Linked DNA regions of Homo sapiens: region 1 is linked to region 2. Evidence: promoter capture Hi-C in human tissues and cell types (Jung and others, 2019). All regions are on one chromosome and are shown on one strand. The core of a region is centred on a gene start or on the middle of the fragment in contact, and the rest is flanking DNA. Distances in the headings are between cores, read along the strand shown.

Region 1 (3,044 bases), core at 265-2,764, 190 kb after region 2:
GAGTTTTACAAAAAGTAACCTCACAGGTGAACCCAATGAGCCTTAATTAGGTTATGACTTATCCACAAGTGTACAAGGTATTTTCAAAGGAGTAATAGGCAGCTTTTGAAACTGTCATTGCAAAACTGAGACTGAGACAGTGAAAGAGAAGAGATCCGACCCAAACAACTCCATTTTGTTTCCAGCCCCCAAGCTGTCCTTGCCCATCCCTGGGTGTAGGCTGGACCAACTTTGGGAGGGGCGAGTTTACAGTTATTAAACTATAGACAGTTTATAGTTATTAAACTATAGATAGTTTAAAACTACAGTTATTAAACTATAGTTTATAGTTATTAAACTATAGATAGTTTATAGTTATTAAACTATAGATAGTTTATAGTTATTAAACTATAGATAGTTTATAGTTATTAAACTATAGTTTATAGTTATTAAACTAGTTTATAGTTATTAAACTATAGTTTATAGTTATTAAACTATAGTTTATAGTTATTAAGCTATAGTTTATAGTTATTAAACTATAGATAGTTTATAGTTATTAAACTATAGATAGTTTAAAACAAAGATGATATCAGCCCCTTCTTAAGATATACTTCCCTCTTGTCTGGGGACCAGACCAAGAAACTAGCCATAAGATTAAAAACCAGGCTGGGCGTGGTGGCTCACGCCTGTAATCCCAGCACTTTGGGAGGCCAAGGTGGGCGAATCACGAGGTCAGGAGTTCGAAACCAGCCTGGTCAACATAGTGAAACCCTGTCTTTACTGAAAATACAAAAGTTAGCCAGGTGTAGTGGTACACGCCTGTAATCCCAGCTACTTGTGAGGCTGAGGCAAAGAGAATCACTTGAACCTGGGAGGTGGAGGTTGCAGCAAGCTGAGATTGCGCCACTGCACTCCACCCTGGGCAACAGTGCAAGACTCCATCTCAAAAAAAAAATATATATATATATATATTTATATATTTTATATAATTATATATATTTATATATTTTATATAATTATATATAATTATATATATTTATATATTTTATATAATTATATATTTATATATTTTATATAATTATATATTTATATATTTTATATAATTATATATTTATATATTTTATATAATTATATATTTATATATTTTATATAATTATATATATTTATATATTTTATATAATTATATATAATTATATATTTTATATAATTATATATAATTATATATTTTATATAATTATATATAATTATATATTTTATATAATTATATATATTTATATATTTTATATAATTATATATAATTATATATTTTATATAATTATATATTAAATATATTAACTATATAATTATATATATTAATATATTTTATATAATTATATATTAAATATATTAACATATATAATTATATATTATATATTTTATATAATTATATATTAAATATATTAACATATATAATTATATATATTATATATTAATATATATAATATAAAATTATGTATATATATAATATAAAATTATATATATATATTGGAAACTATGGCTTAGGAGCTATGCATCTGGAGGCTACAAGATTTTGACACTCCCTAAACTACTCTTAAAATGAGTGTTTAAGATATTTTGTAAACCCTGCCCTTGATGGATCAGCTGGCACCACCCAGATTGACAAACCGACTTAATCTGATTTTGTGGCCCTCACCCAGAAACTGACTTAGCACCAGAAGACAGCCACCATTATGAAATGGTGGAGACTCAAACAAAGTATTGCCACGTGGTTACAGGTCATGTTTCCAAGGACATGAAACAAGATGAAGGCTTATAGCCAATTTTGTTAGTGACGATTTTGTTGGGCTCGCTCAAACACCAGGCTTATGGGGTCCTAGGCCTGCATCCTAACCTAAGATACCCTTTCTTAGGGAAAGACATGCAAAGCACACCAGATTGTTTACAGCTTAAGACCAACCTCACAAATCCTTTTTTATGAATTAGAAATTTACAGAGAATATAAACAATGATCCTTATTATCCCTTTTACCGGTTTGCACAGGGAGAAGCCAAAAGCCCATCTGGTAAGAAATGTTTACCCTTTTGCCAGCATACCAGGCTTCTGTGTTCCCTTCCCCCTAGCTCAACTCTAAGCCAAGCATTTTAACGTTTGGAAAAATAACTTTTCCCAGGTTGGAAGAACATTATAAAAGAGATAGAAGCCATTTTAAACCGTGAAAGAAGGAAAAACACCATAGAAAGGAGTGACAAATAGGGTTGCCAAGAGGTATTGCCTCTTTTCCTATTGGAAATATTGTTTCCCCTATTTCTTTGCCTTCCCTATTTTTTCTTTTCCCTTTTGGCCTACTATAGGAGACCTATTGCTTATCTCCAAAATTTTCTTCTGCTTGCAGAGCTGCCTGTTTTAACTGCAGTTAGGGTTTGGCTTAAGAGCAGCATAACATTCCTCCATGAGAGGTTAAATACCTGAGTTAAATTGTGGAAAACTTCTGTATACCTATCAGGGTCATTAGAAGATTGGACAGGCGCAGTGGCTCACGCCTGTAATCCCAGCACTTTGGGAGGCTGAGGCGGGTGGATCATCTGAGGTCAGGAGTTCAAGACCAGCCAAACCAACATGGTGAAACTGTCTCTACTAAAAAAACAAACAAACATAAAATTAGCTGGGCATGGTGATGCACGCCTGTGAATCCTAGCTACTTGGGAGACTGAGGCAGGAGAATTGCTTGAACCCGGGAGGTGGAGGTTGCAGTGAGTCAAGATCACGCCATTGCACTCTAGCCTGGGCAACAAGAGCAAAACTATGTTTCAAAAAAAAATAAAGAAAGAAAGAAAATTGGCCTAAGTCTCCCTTTACTTGCCTAAGGTCCTAAATAATGAGAAAGGAACTTGAAGGGGCCCCAAATAAAGGAATCCTCAGGTGGTTCCCCTAGAACTGGCTTCTCTAATTTTGGGTAATCATTCTCTTTGGGCCTGCCTGATGTGATTGCTAAAAGAGCTAGGTTGATTTTGCAACGCTTGCAGAAGTTTAGTAAAAAGGCCACGCCCAGCCGGGGGCAGTGGCTC
Region 2 (3,027 bases), core at 474-2,973:
GGGAGCCCAGGCGGTAGCAGTACCAGAGGAACAGGGAAGTGAGGGCCCCGAAGAGCAAGGTGAGGGCCGAGGAGGCCAGGGGTAGTGGCCACGGGAGCATGATCAGGGAGGCCCTGGCCAAGAGGCCTGGGGCGTCCTCCGGACCCCAGTTCCCCTGTCCCCCCAGCTCCCCACCTGTCCCTTCCATGGCTGCCCCCTGGCTCCCCGCTGGACTGTTTCCCTTCCACATTCCACTCTGGGCTGTCTCTCTCTCCTTCCGCGGTCCTCTCTCCACGCTGAAGCTCCCTCTCCCCTCCTTCATGCACCTCCAACCCTCCTCTCTCCTTTCTCTCCCCTTTCTCTCTCCTTCTACCTCTTCTTCCTCCTCTCCCTCTGTCGCCTCCTCACCCTCTTCTTTCTCCTTCCAGCAGCCTCCTCTCTCTCGCTCTGCTTCTCTCTCCCACCTCAATCTCCCCCTTTCCTCCCCACCCCCGCTTTTCGCTCGCTCTCTCTCCCCGCTTCCTCCTAGCTCCCCTGGGCAGCGGTTCCTACCCTGCCTGGACCTGCAGTCCCGGGAACCCGCAGCCTGTCTTCCTCCGCGGCAGCTTCTTTCTCTCCGGCCTCACTGCTCTCTCCTTGCCCTCGCTCCTCACTAGCCCCGACCCTGCGGTCCTGCCTGGCTCTCGCTCCCTCTCTCCTACTCGCTCCTTCCTGGGCTCCCACTCACCCTGACGTCACTCCTTCCCGGAGCCCTCTCAGCTCAGCCACCCCCGAACCCTCCCAGTGGCACAGCAAATCAGCCGGGTGCCGGGGGAGGGGGGAGAGTTGTCGCTGGAGGTGCCTCCCCACCCCCCCCGCCCGGAAAGGGCGCCACGTGGGGCGCAGGGGCCACGGTGCCAGCCTCCAGCCGTCCCGCAATGCGAAAGAAGGGGCGGGTCGTATCGGGCGGGGCCTGAGGGGCGGGGCCTGAGGGGCGGGGCGAGCGCGGACTGACGGCTGGGCAGGCGCCCGGGACTGCGGGCAAGGATGCTGAGGCCAGTCCGTCGGGCGGCTGGTCCGTCGGTCGGTCGGCCTGTGACTCCCGCTGGCCCTAGGCAGCCCGGGAGCCCGCGAGCCTGGCAAACACCGAAAGCGGCCTCAGCCAATCGCGGGCGGCGTCGGGCCGGGCCCGCCCCGGCGGGGCGAGGGGAGCTGTCCGCGCGCCGCTGGTGCTGAAAAGGGCGCTCCGGAGGGAAAATCAGAGCCGAGGCCGCCTGTTAGCTGGCCGGGGTCAGGGTTTATGGAAGAGGAGGGGTCTGTCTCTCCTCCCCAAACCCCGGCCCGTCACCCACGAGACTTGTCACAATCGTGGAAGCTCTCTATTCCCCTGGAGGAGGGAGAGCCCATTCCACCCGAGCTACTGTAAAAGGGGAAGGGAAGCCCCTTGGGAGGTCTGAATGTGAACAGGGGGCATAATTGGGGGCCTAGCAGGCGCGAACCAAGCTATGCAGCCCCTCGGCACCCTGGGAAGAGGAGATTCAGATTCCAGATGTGCTGGAATGGCAGGCGGAGGGGGCTAATTACTGCTGGGACCAGAGAGTTTCCTTTGCCTCCCCTAGGGGCCGCGGGAGTGAGGATTACGGCCCTGGCTCGTATGATCCCTCCCTCCTCCATCTGCACTTCCTCCTCCTCCCTCCCCGTCAAATAAATCCCAGGCCCCTCCCTCCGCCCGTCCCCAGGATCTGACGTGGGCTCGATACCTTTCTCAGCTTCTCCCTCCCGCAGCTCCAGTGCCCGAGCTTCGGCTCTCCCAGTTCCCCAACCCACCCCTTCCCCTCCCCGACAAGCCCCGCTAGAGCCCAGTGGAGACCCCCTCGATCCTCGACCCCACCCTAAACCCCCAGAAGCTGTCTTTCTCCTCCCCAGTCCCCTAGCTTGGGGTCCAGACAGCCCAGTGGACCCAGGCGCCTGAGCAGGAGGGTAACCCAGGCCACCCGGCCCCTTCGGCCCTCTCGGCCCCACCCCCTGCAGCCGGAGCCGCGCCCCCTCCACCACAGAGCCGCGAGAAGAGGACAGAGGAGACTGAGCAAAGGGGGGTGGGCTCCAGGCGACCCCTAGCCCAATTCTGCCCCTCCATCCCAAGGGGCAGAGAAATTGTCTTTCTTTGCTGACTCCTACGAGGAAAAAAAAAAAAAAAAAAAAAACAATTAAAGGGAAAGATAAACGGAGACGGAGGAAAGGTGGCAGCCAGATTACTTAGAGAGGCACAGAGGAGAGAGATCGGGGTGAGTCGCCATGGGGACTCCCAGGGCCCAGCACCCGCCGCCTCCCCAGCTGCTGTTCCTAATTCTGCTGAGCTGTCCCTGGATCCAGGGTAAGGACATGAGACTGTGGGGGTGGGCCCCAGGAAGGCGTCCAGCGGGGTCCTCCACCCTCCTTTCTCTTAATATCCTGGGTCTTCCGAGCACATGGGGGAGGGGAGAGGCACAGCTGATGGGGAAGGGGCAAGCCAGAGCTTTCAGGCTTGAACCCGAAGCCCCTTAACCCTCAATATTGAGAAGGCAGAGAAATGAATGAGAGAAGCTTTTAGCAGTGTCTCAGGGGCTAGATCCAAGAAGGAGGGCTGGGAAAGTTGGGGGGATGTCTGCGGAGGCGGCAGAAGCATGGAGGGACCTGGGTGGGAGATGGAGGTGCTGAGAGAGATGCCAGGCGCTGTACACACAACTGTTCTTGGATGAATGGACAAAGACAGATGAGCAGAGGCAGGGCTCAAAGACCAGATTTTCAGTCCCCCACTCTGACCCCCAGCCAGACTCCAGGGAAGGAGGCAGAGACTGCAGAGGACCAGAGAGAGAGAGGGTGGGGGGGAGAGAGAGAGAGAGAGAGAGAGAAAAGACAGCCACACTGCAGAGACAGAAACCCAGAGAGAAAGCCAGGCACTGCGGAAGCAAGGGCTGGGAGGTGCGGCCAGATCCTCTGCAGAGCCCCAGGGTTGGGGGGAGATCACCACTGAGGTGAAAGGGAAGGCAGCACCGGCGACCCCTCTGCCTTGCTGGCGCTGTCCAGGGT

What was found. The method cuts DNA at HindIII sites, captures the fragments that hold promoters and counts their contacts. A contact is called where the count stands out against the background at its distance.
Region 1: a fragment that was not itself captured here is called in contact with the fragment with the promoter of SEZ6L2 in region 2 in 1 of the 25 tissues and cell types used here (spleen).

The regions. Positions count from the first base shown.
Region 1 is chr16:29,711,674-29,714,717 of GRCh38, reverse strand. No RefSeq gene overlaps it. Among named protein-coding and RNA genes, the nearest start is that of C16orf54, 33 kb to the left of the region's middle. RefSeq lists an enhancer at 2,079-2,660. The HindIII fragment of the contact is 8,263 bases long and covers 1-3,044 here.
Region 2 is chr16:29,898,246-29,901,272 of GRCh38, reverse strand. SEZ6L2 (seizure related 6 homolog like 2) reads left to right here and starts at 1,723. Exons shown (of 18, transcript NM_001243332.2): 1 at 1,723-2,332. The coding sequence starts at 2,254. It overlaps ASPHD1 (aspartate beta-hydroxylase domain containing 1), which reads right to left and starts at 785. Exons shown (of 3, transcript NM_181718.4): 1 at 1-785. The coding sequence starts at 301. RefSeq lists a silencer at 738-1,167 and an enhancer at 1,531-1,825. The HindIII fragment of the contact is 10,220 bases long and covers 1-3,027 here.